Regions from separate parts of the Homo sapiens genome. Here region 1 is linked to region 2. Evidence: promoter capture Hi-C in 16 types of primary human blood cells and fetal thymus (Javierre and others, 2016). All regions are on one chromosome and are shown on one strand. Each heading gives the region's core, a stretch centred on a gene start or on the middle of the fragment in contact. The rest is flanking DNA. Distances are from core to core; before and after follow the strand shown. Region 1 has its middle 22 kb from the start of AGXT. Region 2 holds the start of RTP5 (receptor transporter protein 5 (putative)).

Region 1 (6,650 bases), core at 630-3,129, 1.0 Mb after region 2:
GCAGCGCCCACCGCCCTTCACTGCCCTGGCTGGGCCTGCCCTGGGCAGCGCCCACCGCCCTTCACTGCCCTGGCTGGGCCTGCCCTGGGCAGCGCCCACCGCCCTTCACTGCTCCTGCCCCTGCACTGTCTCTTCCCCGTGGTGAGTGAGCTGCTATGAAGGCCCCTAGATTGGTCCTTCTGGCCGTCCTTAGGGGCTTCCACAGCCCGGTTCCTGATGGCACTTGGCGTAGCCATGGGCCCTGAACTTCGGGGCTGCTTCTCGGCCTTCTCGACAAGCTCAGTGCCTGGCTCTGCCCTCAACCTGCAGTGTGTCCTTGGGCAAACCCCATCCCTGGCCCAGCCTCCACTTCTTCTCAGGACAGCTCTGTAAGGTCTGTGGGGTGAGCCCTCTTGTTCCTCCCTCAGCTTAGCCCTGGGGTAATGGGGAGAATCTTCTATGGGGAAGGAAGCCAAACCTCCTTGTGAGGGAGGAGGGAGCCTCCCACTGAAGCACACGTCACAGCTGTCCCATTTTAAAATATCTTCTAAGTAATGAGGACGTTCTCCAATGGCACAGACATGAGGACAGTGAAACTGTTGGCGCCAGCACCGGCCTCAACAGCCGGCAGCGTCCTGCTGTCCAGCTTCTTTTCTCAGGACCCCCTCCGTATTACTTGTTTAATTTTGCTGAAGATTTAAAGCAAACCCCGACAGTGTGTTCTTCCACCCAGATCTTCCAGTGCACACCTAAAAAGATGGACCTTTTTCACACAGCCTCAATGCCATTGTCACACTTAAAAAAGCCAATAACAATTCCTTTCTATCACCTGGGAGCCTGGCCATAGACATGTTTGCCCAGTCATCTAAAAGACATCTTTTTAAAGAATTGAGATGTAAACAAGTCCCAGTATCACATGCTGTGGGGCCCAGGACTCAAGCTTTAGTGTCAGCGGTGCTCCTCACCCTCTGATGTGACTTGGTTGTGTCCCCGCCCAAATCCCATCTGGAATTGTAATCCCCTTAATCCCCGTTTTATATATATAGGGAGAGACCTGGTGGGAGGTGATTGGATCATGAGGGCAGTTTCCCCATGCTGTTCTCATGATAGTGAGTGAGTTCTCACGAGATCTGATGGTTTTATAAGGGGCTCGTCCCCCTTTGTTCCTCACTCTTCTGTCTCCTGCCGCCTAGTGAAGAAGGACGAGTTTACTTCTCCTTCTGCCGTGATTGTAAGTTTCCTGAGGCCTCCCCACATGCAGAACTGTGAGTCAATTAAACCTCTTTCCTTTGTAAATTATCCAGTCTTGGGTATTCCTTAAGAGCAGGTGAGAATGACTAATACACCCTTTAAACTTCAATAGTGCTCTCAGCCTCTAATGTACAGCGGTGCTCTCCACCCTCTAACACAACAGTGCTCCCCACCCTCTAAAACACAGCAGTGCTCCCCACCCTCTAATGTACCGTAGTGCTCCGCATCCTCTAACACAGCAGTGCTCCCCACCCTCTAATGTACAGCGGTGCTCCCCACCCTCTAACACAACAGTGCTCCCCACTCTCTAACACACAGCAGTGCTCCCCACCCTCTAATGTACAGTGGTGCTCCCCACCCTCTAACGCACAGCAGTGCTCCTCACCCTCTAACACACAGCAGTGCTCTCCACCCTCTAACACAACAGTGCTCCCCACCCTCTAACACACAGCAGTGCTCCCCACCCTCTAATGTACAGCGGTGCTCCCCACCCTCTAACACACAGCAGTGCTCCCCACCCTCTAATGTACAGCGGTGCTCCCCACCCTCTAACACACAGCAGTGGTCTCCACTCTCTAACACAACAGTGCTCCCCACCCTCTAACACACAGCAGTGCTCCCCACCCTCTAACGCACAGCGGTGCTCCCCACCCACTAACACACAGCGGTGCTCCCCACCCTCTAACACACATCGGTGCTCCCCACCCTCTAATGTACAGTGATGCTCCCCACCCTCTAACACAACAGTGCTCCCCACTCTCTAACACACAGCAGTGCTCCCCACCCTCTAATGCACAGCAGTGCTCCTCACCCTCTAACACACAGCAGTGCTCTCCACTCTCTAACACAACAGTGCTCTTCACCCTCTAATGCACAGCAGTGCTCCCCACCCTCTAACGCACAGTGGTGCTCCCCACCCACTAACACACAGCGGTGCTCCCCACCCTCTAACGCACAGCCCTGCTCCCCACCCTCTAACGCACAGCGGTGCTCCCCACCCTCTAACGCACAGCGGTGCTCTTCACCCTCTAACGCACAGCGGTGCTCCCCACCCTCTAACGTACAGCGGTGCTCCCCACCCTCTAACGCACAGCGGTGCTCTTCACCCTCTAACGCACAGTGGTGCTCCCCACCCTCTAATGTACAGCGGTGCTCCTCACCCTCTAACGCACAATGGTGCTCCTCACCTTCTAATGTACAACGGTGCTCCTCACCCTCTAATGTACAATGGTGCTTGTCACACTCTAATGCACAACCATGCTCCTCACTCTCTAATGCCTAATGGTGCACCTCACCCTCTAAAGTACAGTGGTGCTCCTCTCCCTCTAATGCCCAACGGTGTTCCTTACCTCGAATGTACAACTGTAGTCCTTCTTCACATGGTGGCAGGAGAGAGAAGTGCAGAGTGAAGGGGGAAGAGCCTCTTATAAAACCATAGGATCTCATGATAACTCACTCACTATCATGAGAACAGGATAGGGGAAACTGTCCCCATGATTCAGTTACCTCCCACTGGGTTCTTCCCATGACATCTGGGAATTATGGGAACTACAATTCAAGATGAGATTTGGGTGGGGACACAGCCAAACCATATCACCTGTTAAGCTTCCCAAACCTTATCTATACAAATAGCCCCCAGAACTTCGGAGCACCAACTCCCACTCTTTGGAGTCTGTGCTCCCAGGTGGCTGTCCTTATGCTCTGTGCTCAAGTTAACTGTCCATTTCATCCTGTTTTCTGAATCTCTTTATTTAGGGTTGACAGGGAAGGGATTGGCCATGGTGCCTGGCACACGGGCAGCTCCTGGCAGGAGGCCAGCTGTGCCACAGGTCCGGCCAGTGCTCTCTGCAGGGCTGTGTGGCTGCCCTGCCCTGGCTGCCTGGCCAGCCCACTCTCTCAGATTCTCTCACCAGGGTCCAGACTCCCTGTCCCAGGAGTTTCTGGGCAGCGGAGAGGGAGAGAAGGAGGCAGGCCTGGAGGCTCACCTTCCCCCAGGATCTGAGCTTCCACCAGAAAGGAAACCAAAATATATCCCCCACAAATAAACTTCTTTGACATATTTTGAGATGGCTGTTCAGAGGGCCTGAAAACAGAAGCAGCCCTGCAAAGCTTTCTTTTGTGGGGAAATTTGCATCTGTATAGAAAACCTGCATTGATGCAGCCAGGCTTTTGCTGAGGCCCTCATTTTTCTGTATTTAGGAAAGATAAGCTGAGAGTCTGTATTAGCCTGTTCTCACGCTATCATAAAGAACTGCCTGAGACTGGGTAATTTTTTAAAGGAAGGAGGTTTAATTGACTCACAGTTATGCAGGGCTGGGGAGGCCTCAGGAAACTTACAATCATGGCAGAAGGGGAAGCAAAGACATCCTTCTTCACATGGAGGCAGGAAGGAGAAAGAGTGCCAAGCAAATGAGGAAGCCCCTTATAAAACCATCACATCCCATGAAAACTCACTCACTATCATGAGAAAAGCATGGCAGAAATTGCCCCCATGATTCAGTTACCTCCACCTGGTTCTGCCCTTGACACATGGGGATTATTACAATTCAAGGTGAGATTTGGGTGGGGACACAGAGCCAAACCATATCATTCCACCCCGGCCCCTCCCAAATCTCGTATCCTTACATTTCAAACACAATCATGCCCTCCCAATAGTCCCCCAAAGTCTTAGCTCATTTCAGCATTAACACAAAAGTCCAAGTCCAAAGTCTCATGTGAGACAAGGCAATTCCCTTCTGTCTATGAGCTTGTAAAATCAAAAGCTTGTTAGTTACTTCCTAGATACAATGAGGGTACAGGAATTGGGTAAATACACCCATTCCAAAAGGGAGAAATTGACCAAAACAAAGGGGCTACAGGCCCCATGCAAGTCTGAAATCCAACAGGGCAGTCATTAAACCTTAAAGTTCCAGAATGATCTCCTTTGACTCCATGTTTCACATCCAGGTCATGCTTATGCAAGAGGTGGTCTCCCATGGCCTTGGGCAACTCTGCCCCTGTGGCTTTGCAGGGTACAACACCTCCCCTCCCCCCACCTGGCTGCTCTCATGGGCTGGCTATGGAGTGTCTGCAGCTTTTCCAGATGTACAGCGCAAGGTGTCGGTGGATCTACCATTCTGGAGTTTGGAAGATGGTGGCCTTATTCTCACAGCTCCACTAGGCAGTGCCCCAGTGGGGACTCTGTGTGGGGGCTCTGACCCCACAGTCCCTTCTGTACTGCCCTAGTAGAGGTTCTCCATGAGGGCTCTGCCCTACAGCAAACTTCTGTCTGGACATTCTGGAAATTCCATACATCCTCTGAAATCTAGGGATTGGGAGCTCCCCAAACCTCAATTCTTGACTTCTGGGCACCCACAAGCCCATTAGCACATGGAAGCTGCCAAGGTTTAGGGCTTGCACCCTCTGAAGCAATGGCCTGAGCTGTATGTTGGCTCCTTTTAGCCATGGCTGGAGTGGCTGGGACGAAGGGCACTAAGTTCCAAGGCTGCACACAGCAGGGGGGCCCTGGACCCAACTCAGGAAACCCTTTTTCCCTCCTAGGCCTCTGGGCCCTTGATGGAAGGGGCTGCTGTGAAGGTCTCTGACATGCTCTGGAGACATTTTCCTCATTGTCTTGGTGATTAACACTCAGCTCTTCATTACTTATGCAAATTTCTGAAGCTGGCTTGAATTTCTCCCCAGAAAATGGGTTTTCTTTTCCATTGCATCATCAGGCTGCAAATTTTTCAAACTTTTATGCTCTGCTTCCTCTTGAACAGTTTGCCACTTAGAAATTTCTTCCACCAGATACACTAAATCATCTCTCTCAAGTTCAGCTTTCCATAGATCTCTAGGGCAGGGTCAAAATGCCCCCAGTCTCTTTGCACAGCAAGAGTAACCTCTATTCCCATTCCCAACAAGTTCCCCATCTCCATCTGAGATCACCTCAGCCTGGACTTCGTTGTCCATATCACTATTGGCATTTTGGTCAAAGCCATTCAATAATTCTCCAGGAAGTTCCAAACTTTCCCACATCTTTCTGTCTTCTGAACCCTCCAAGTCTCTAGGAAGTTCCAAACTTTCCCATATTTTCCTGTCTTCTTCTGAGCCCTCCAAACTGTTCCAAACTCTGCCTGTTACCCAGTTCCAAAGTTGTTTCCACATTTTTGGGTATCTTTACAGAAGCACCCCACTCTCTGTGGTAAGAGTTTACGATATTACTCCCTTCCCATGCTGCATTAAAGAACTGCCTGAGACTGGGTAATTTACAAAGGAAGGAGGTTTAATTGATTTACAGTTCCACAGGGCTGGGGAGGCCTCAGGAAATTTACAATCATGGTGGAAGGGGAAGCAAACATGTCCTTCTTCACATGATGGCAGGAAGGAGAAGGAATGCCAAGTGAAGCCCCTTATAAAATCATCAGATCTTGTGAGAACCCACTCACTATCAGGAGAACAGCATTGCAGAAACCACTCCTGTGATTCAATTATCTGCACTTGGTTCCACCCTTGACATGTGGTGGTTATTAAAATTCAAGGTAAGATTTGAGTGGGGACACAGAGCCAAACCATATCAGTCTGTCACCCTTAAAGGCTAAAAGCAGCATTTACCATTTGCTAGCTGTGAGGTCCCCTAACCTGGTGAGCCTGGCCTCCTCTTCTCCCCCTCCCAAAACCTGCCATGCCACTGGGATCTGTTTTTGGCCGTGCTTGAGCCTCCATTCTTTCTGTAACCTGTTCAAAGAAAAACCAAACTCCATAAAATATTTAAAGAGGTTTCTTCTGAGCCAATATGAGTGACCATGGCCCGGGGAACAGTCTCAAGAGTTCCTGAGAAAGTGTGCCCAGGGAGTCGGGTCACCGCTCGGTTTTATACATTTTAGGGAGACAGACGTTACAGGCAAAGACATAAATCAATACATGGAAGGTGTAAATTGCCTAAAGAGATGGGACATCTCCAAGTTGGGGTGCTTACAGGTCACAGATGGATTCAAAGATTTTCTGATTGACAATTGGTTGAAAGAGCTAGACTTTGTTTAAAGACTTGAAGTCAGTAGAAAGAAAGGCTTGGGTTAAGATAAGGGGGTTGTGGAGAGCACGGTTCTTGTTATGCAGTTGAAGCCTCCCAGGTCGCAGTCTTCAGAGAGAATAGAAGGTGAATGTCTGTTTTCAGACTTTGAAAGTGTCAGACCCTCATTTAATCTCCCTTAGATCCGGGAAAGGACTAGAAAGGAAGGCCTGGCTGCATTAATGGAGATTCTCTACAGATGCAAATTTCCCCCACAAAAGATGGCTTTGCAGGGCCATCTCAAAATATGTCAAAGAAATATAGTTTGGAGTAAAATACTTTTATTTCCTTCAGGGTCTGCCATCTGTCGTGTGAGGTTACACCAGAGTCAAGCTGGAATTTGGTGTCTTATTGCCACAAGGAGTCTGCTCTA
Region 2 (6,875 bases), core at 1,628-4,127:
GGTGAAGATGCTGGTGAGGGAGGAGGGGAAGGTGAGGGAGCCCTCCCCGCTGGCCGAGAGGCCCACACAGTAGAACACGGTTGGCGTGTGTTTCCCCACAGGGACGAGGCCATTGTTGAGGGAGATGGGGCCCCAGCCCTGGGCCACGCCAACCGGGCTGCAGAGGGAGCCCCGGCCTTTGAAGAGGAAGCCCTTGAGCTCGAAGGTCTGGATGCTGCTGCCGAGGAGGCCGGGGCCGTGGAAGAGGGGGTCTCCAATGGCCACCGGGAAGCCTTTGCCCCCAGGCATGGCCACTGAATCCCCAGACAGGAAGATGGAGCCCTGGCCGATGACCAGGGCCTCACAGCTGCCAGTCACAGGGAGAGAGGCCCCCGCAGGGGGGGCAGGGCCCTCAGCGATGGGCACCTGGTCATTGCTGGTACCCACAAGGGAGAAGGGGATGGCGATGACAACGCCACCCTTGCCAAGGTCGTCGCCAGGGGTGGACAGCGGTTTGCCCCTGGAGACGGTGCCAGTGCCACCCCAGGCCGTGGCGGGGAAGTTGCCTTTTGTGGCGTTGGCGCTCCAGGCGGGGTCTGGGGCCTTCTGGAGGAAGCAGACCCCCAGCTCACAGGCCTCACAGCAGCCCTCATAGGCCTCCCTGGGGTGCCGGGCTGGGCCGGGGCCATCCCCGTAGCAGTCCTGCAGGATGTGCAAGACCAGCCTGCTGAGGAAGGGCTGCTCGCCCGGGGGCCTCACCTGGCAGTCCCCGGGTGCGGGGCACAGCCTGCACCGCTGGCCCCAGATGCGCATCTTCACCAGCCCCCGGTGGCTGGCCCTGTCCCACCACAGGTGGAAGAGGACGTGCACATGGGCCGAGTCCCAGGTCCCCGGACAGTGACCGCACTGGAGCCTGCGGCGGGGAAAGAAGTGTGTGTGAGTGCAGGAGAAAGAGGCCCCACGCCCAGCCCTCGCACTCTGCTCTGCGGCCTCCTTGCCCATCCGACCCCAGCGCCTCGCTGCCCCCTGCCTCACATCCCACACTCAAACCTCAAACCTCACCCCCCAGCCACCCAGGGCCGCGGCCAAGGCAGCCTAGCACCTGCTCCTGCCTGTGCCGAGGCTCTGAAACCACCAGCCCCTCGGCCACACACAGGCAAAAGCAGGCCCATGCGCACTAGCCCGCAGCCCCCTCATGTGGAGCACTGAGAAGCAAAGCAAACCTCCTCTCAGCAGTTTTTCAACAAAACCCGCTCCAGCCTGGCCTCCGTGAGGCGTCGGCAGCCTGCCACCTGCGTGGCTCTGCTGGTGTTTTGTGAGTTGGGGTTAACACAGGAAGAGGCAGGCCTGCCGACACACTTAGGAGGGGAAAAGCATGCATGTGGGGGCTGTCCCTGGGGGCTCAGCAAGTGGGGGTCCCTGTCCTGACTGAGAGGAGGCGATCCAGGAGGTCGCCTGCCAGCTGAGGGGAAGGATGTCACGGAGGCCTGCGGTCATGGCCCGGGCAGCCCTGCTGGGCGTCACCAGGCGAGGAGAGGTTTGGGGAGAGCACTGGGAGGGATTGGCTTGTCCATGGCGGTCATCAGACCGGTGACCATTTGCTAGCCACACAAGCAGCTGTGAGCTTCAGGGAACCCTGCATGAGTGAGAGGCTATGATTCAGTTCCAGGCAGTGGAAGTTTCTGGATGACAGAATGTTCTATAGCCACACTGCCCTGCCTGCAGCCTCCAACCACACTGGCCACAGAGCCCGTGGACACGTTCGTGCTGGAGGAACTGAACTGCTGACTTTATTTAAATGGGACTGAGGAGCCAAAGCCACGGGCGCTGGGGCTGCATGTTGGGGCAGCCGTCCTCAGTTCTCTCCCGCCAGCTGGGAGCCGCTCAGAGCCATCTCCACCTGGCTGTGGGAACAGTGATGTGCTTCCCAGCACTTCTCAGACCCCAACACGGGTTATTACTTTCCCAGCTTCTGAAAAAGCTGGGATTCTGCACACACCTGGCCCCAGGGGTCTCAGGCACTGAGGAGCTGTGTCAAAGGGCAGGACGACTCCCCCTTTGCCCAGGGTGTCTCCACAGAGGGACGGACCAGCCAGCAGCCTGGGGGCCTGTCAGGCCGGGCATCTGCGAGGATGTGGAGCTGCCCCGCGCCCCTCCCAGCTGGCACCCGGCCGAGCTGTGGATGCCTTGCCAGTTGGAGAAGCGCATGGCGCCCGCCCTGCTGCGCTGACGGCACCACAACCGTGATGACGGCCTGTGAGGCTCACTTGTGACCCACAGCCACCCCGGGCCCCCGATCAGGGCCGAGCACCCCGCTGTGTGCAACACAGGGCCGGATGGTGACCACAGGCTCCGGCACGCCCCAGGGCCCACCTGTCAGCACTGATGGCTGCGAGACCACGGCAGTGCCATGGAAGCAGGAGATGAGCCTGTGTCCAAGGGCAGCGCTGGCCCAAGGAGCCGAGTGAGGGAAACCAAACTCTCCATGAGGCACCCGCCATGTCTTCCCCGGGACCCCTGCGTCAGCAGCCGTGTGCCCAGCATGGCGAGGCAGGGGCTCCGGCGGGAGAAGGAGCACCCAGCCCCACCCTCCCGTCTCGGGGACAAGACGAGGCCCAACAGCCCCACCCAGCCTCTGGGACCACCCAAGGTCCCGTGGAAAAGCACCTTCAGCCCCCTGCCTCTCCCAGGGTCCCCAACCTCTGGCCGCACCTCGAGAGCCCCACCAGCAGGTACTGGACACCACCGCCGTCCAGGCATCCCGGGACCAGGCTGTGCTCAGGTAGCAGAACCCAGACGTCCTGGGGCTTCCTCTCGGCCATGGCCAGGGTGAAGGTGCTGGCCCACATGTCTGCCCCAGCCCGGTCCATGCTGCCGCCTGGCTCCGCAGTGTGGGCTGAGGGCTGCGCCCGCCGGGGGCCCAAGGAAACGTCCCCGCATCCCGCGCCGGCCAATCAGCCACCTTGACAACAGCATGGTCTCCATGGCAACCAGATTTGTCTCCGAGAAATGGGAAGCAGAAAGGAAAAATACAATACAATGCAATCTCCCATGACCCCGCCCCCCAGAGAGCATCCCTGTGGCAGCACCGTGGTGGTGGTGGTGGGCGTGGGCCCGTGGACACGCAGGGGCCTCCCCAGACCCGTGCGTGTAGAGGCCCGGGTGTTTTCACACATCGCACCAAGGAATCATCCACAGCCCTCTCTTTCTAGTGCACATCAGGAGCGGTGGCCCACACTCATCCCTTGCTGAACACTTGGTATTTTTCCAGCTTGTGGCTATCATGTAACTTATTCACTCAGCTTCTCTCTGCAAACAGCACTAATGCTTTTCACACAAACAAAGCTGAGAAGAACTTTATAGAACGTGTATCATTGCAGATTGTCCCGTGGGTGTATTCTCTTAAACTTTTTACTAGTGAGAAATATAAAATATTTACATAAAATGCCTAAAACATAAATGCAGAGCTTCACAAATTATTCTAAAGTCTTAAGTCACCACGTCCTATAGGAAGAAACAAAACCTCGCTCTGCCAGCCTCCAGAGCTGGCTGCCTGTTCCCTCCCGATCTCAGCCCGCGGCCCCACCCCCACCCCCTGCCCTCCTGGCAGAGGTGCCACCAGCCTGGCCGTGCCTGCACAGACAACGTTGAGGCTTCAACACCTATGATGCCTCCCTCACCGAGCCCTTTAGCTGTGCAGCTTCTGAGCTTTACATAAACAATTCATGCATGTGCCCAGCTTCTCACGCCTTTTCAGGTTGTTTAATTTCTGAGATTCAACAGCATTGCTGTGCGTGGCAGCCACCTGTCATGGCACAACAAGAAAGGGTGAGCTGAGAAGGAGCCGGGACGTGCAGGGGCGGAGACAGCCAGCTGATCCCTGCAAAACCTCAGCACAGATCTGCCCCCGGGAGGCTCCCGGCCACCCGGCTCTCCTCACAGCTCCCATCTCGCCATCTCTCTGCCCTGCACACTGAACAATCTCTTCTCATTTTTCTACCACTTCACACATTATCTCCTCGTCTCTGTCGACTCTGCAGCTAATGCTGGCAAGCGCCTTGTCATAGTTTTCATTTCTGAACCTTCTTTTCGGCCCTTTCAAACCTGTGACATCTTCCCGCCTTGCAGCTAGGTGTGACTGCAAGATAGAAGAGGAAGCCAGTGGGACGCACTCTGGGAAGGGGCCTCCATACAGGGCCAGACTGCCAGGGAAAGCCCCGCGTTTCTCATCCCAGCTTCATTTTCTTCTATCCATCAGTGCTGGGATGATGGCCGCACTCCAGCCTGTCTTAGACCTGCCTCAAGCACAGAGCTGTGAGCCCAAGGAGCAGGAAGGCGGGAGCCCGGGGCTGTGGTGACAGATGGAGTCGTCACACCACTGGAGGGTCGCCCACCTCTGGGTTTCCTGTTCACACGAGAAGTAAGCCAGCTGCCACTGTGGTCTCGAGGCACTGTTCTCTGGCACTGTGGATGATCACACAGCTAGCCGGAGCAATCCTAACTCACTCGCCGGGCTGTATCTAAGGTCCTGGGGTTTGCTGGTTGGCTCCGGGCCACTGTGCGTGTGTGGGCCCCTTGTGGTCCTGGTCGTGTGCCCCCGCAGGGGTCTAAGAGACACCTACTGTCCACTTGCCTCCAAAAGCCTCGGTCCACAGGGGTCCCTGCAGAGGACCTCCTCCCACCACAGCCCCCCAGAGCCAGTGTTTCCTGGCTGCTTCCGTGCCACGCTGGGGCCACAGCCCTGCCTGCCAGTCCCACCTCTCAGGCTCCTCAGCCCTGGAGGCCACACCTGGCTCTGAGTTTAGGGAAAAGCTTTGGAATGATGACTGACCACAGTCACCCAAAATAACCTTTTGGATGGCAATTCCGGCCCTTATGAAATGCAGGGAGCTGGTTGCCCGGGCATTATTCGCTCAAGAATTGTTGAGTTTTCCTTAGACCCATCCCAGAACACCTCCAGAGGCCTGGGCGGCAGACAGCAGAGAGGGCATCCTGTCCACGCCTCTGTCTGACTGCCCATTTGTCTGTCTCCCAAACCCACAAGCCACGCCCTGCAAGAGCTGCTTACGTGGCCCCCTCACAAATCAGCCAGCCATGAGCACCCCCTCTTCTTCGGCGGGGATGGATGAGGCAGGTTGTGCACAGCACCCACGGGTCCCTGCAACATGTGGCAGGGTCCTCCTTGGGCCTTCTGCATCAGCGCCCACCTGGAGCCGGCCACTGGAGCCTCTCTCCAGGCATGTGTGGTCCCTCCAAGGACAGGCCCTAGGACCCAGGCCTGGGGCAGACGCCTTCTGACCCCGCTCCCTGCCCAGCCTCCCCGAAGGCTGGCTCCAGGACAGGGTGAGATGGGGGTGGGAGATTGGGCCACAGGGAAAAGAAACGATCAGGGGAAGCCGGGTGCCCCTTCAGCACTGCTGCCCACCTGGTGTGGTGGCTTAGCGCTCCCTCTCCCCGCAGACACGCGCTCCTTCTGGGGCCCCTTCCTCACACGCTGGTACCCGTCTTCCTGAGCTCAGCTTCTGGGGAGGGCAGCTGGCAGGCCGGGGACAGCCCTCCCTTGGGAAGCAGAACTTGCAGCTCAGGTGAGTCCCACCACAGTCTCCTGCCAGAACGGATGCACTGCCTGGGCCTGGAGGAGCAGAGGCAGCAGCTCCCGGCGAGGGAGGAGCAAACGCCAAGGCCCGGTGGGGCCAGAGGACCGGTCGGCTGACGGGATGGTGGTCCTTGCTCAGAGGGAGAAAGAGACGGGCAGGAAAAGGAGCCGAGCAGAGAACGGTGGCCGTTCGCAGGTGCTGGGGCTCACCCTCCCCCCACAGACCTCAGCTGGGGCTCACCCTCCCAACACAGACCTCAGCTCGTGGCTGCAGCGGCAGGGACAAGGCCGCCTCCCAGACCCCAGGCCCTGCAGTCCCACAGGCCCCACCGGCAAGGGGTTGTTCCTGGCCCAAGGCTCCGTGTGGCTCTGCCCCAGCGCTGCCCAGGCGGGCAGGGATCCCAGGACCGGCAGCTGGTGGGGGGACGCAGCCTCTGTCCAGCCATTCTGTTGCTGAAAGCGCTTCCACTGTCCAAGAGGCCCCTTGCTCTCCCCTCCAACCCGCAGTCCTGCTGGGGCTGGGGAGGCCATTCCGAAGGAGGAATGCAAGGGACCTCCTGCACTCGCCCTCGGAGCATCCCTCCCTGGGGGACCGCTCACTCACGCTGCTCATCCCCCGCAGCTCAGCATCCCCCGCAGCTCAGCATCCCCCGCAGCTCAGCATCCCCCGCAGCTCAGCATCCCCCGCAGCTCAGCATCCCCCGCAGCTCAGCATCCCCCCGCAGCTCAGCATCCCGCGCAGCTCAGCATCCCGCGCAGCTCAGCCCGGGTTCTTCGGCTTTGGAGCCCAGCAGGGGGACCAGCAGGGGGACCAGCAAGGGGCCTGAGTGACACCCACTGCCCTGGAGTGAGAAGGCAGGGGCGCCACACACACACAGGACACCACACACCACACACCACACACACCACACACACTACACATACCACACACACACTACACACACCACACACACCACACAAACACCACACATGCCACACACGCCACACACACCACACACTACAAGCCACACACACCACACACTACACACACTACACATACCACACACACTACACACACCATACACTACACACACCAGACACACTACACACACCACACCACACACACCAAACACACACATCACACAAACCATACACAACACGCACTACACACACACACTCTACACACACCACACACAGCACACACACCATACCACATACACCACACACACTACACACACCACACGCACCCACACACACCACACACTACACACACCACACAACCAAACACCACACATGCCACACATGCCACACAAACCACACA

What was found. Contacts are between HindIII fragments. The CHiCAGO score rates a contact against its expected background, and 5 or more counts as called.
Region 1: a fragment that was not itself captured here is called in contact with the fragment with the promoter of RTP5 in region 2 in 1 of 17 cell types (naive CD8 T cells); the score reaches 6.5 in naive CD8 T cells.

The regions. Positions count from the first base shown.
Region 1 is chr2:240,843,807-240,850,456 of GRCh38, reverse strand. No RefSeq gene overlaps it. Among named protein-coding and RNA genes, the nearest start is that of AGXT, 22 kb to the left of the region's middle. The HindIII fragment of the contact is 1,916 bases long and covers 922-2,837 here.
Region 2 is chr2:241,865,731-241,872,605 of GRCh38, reverse strand. RTP5 (receptor transporter protein 5 (putative)) reads right to left here and starts at 2,877. Exons shown (of 2, transcript NM_173821.3): 1 at 2,692-2,877; 2 at 1-892. The coding sequence starts at 2,849. RefSeq lists enhancers at 237-793, 6,036-6,817. The HindIII fragment of the contact is 6,184 bases long and covers 1-4,793 here.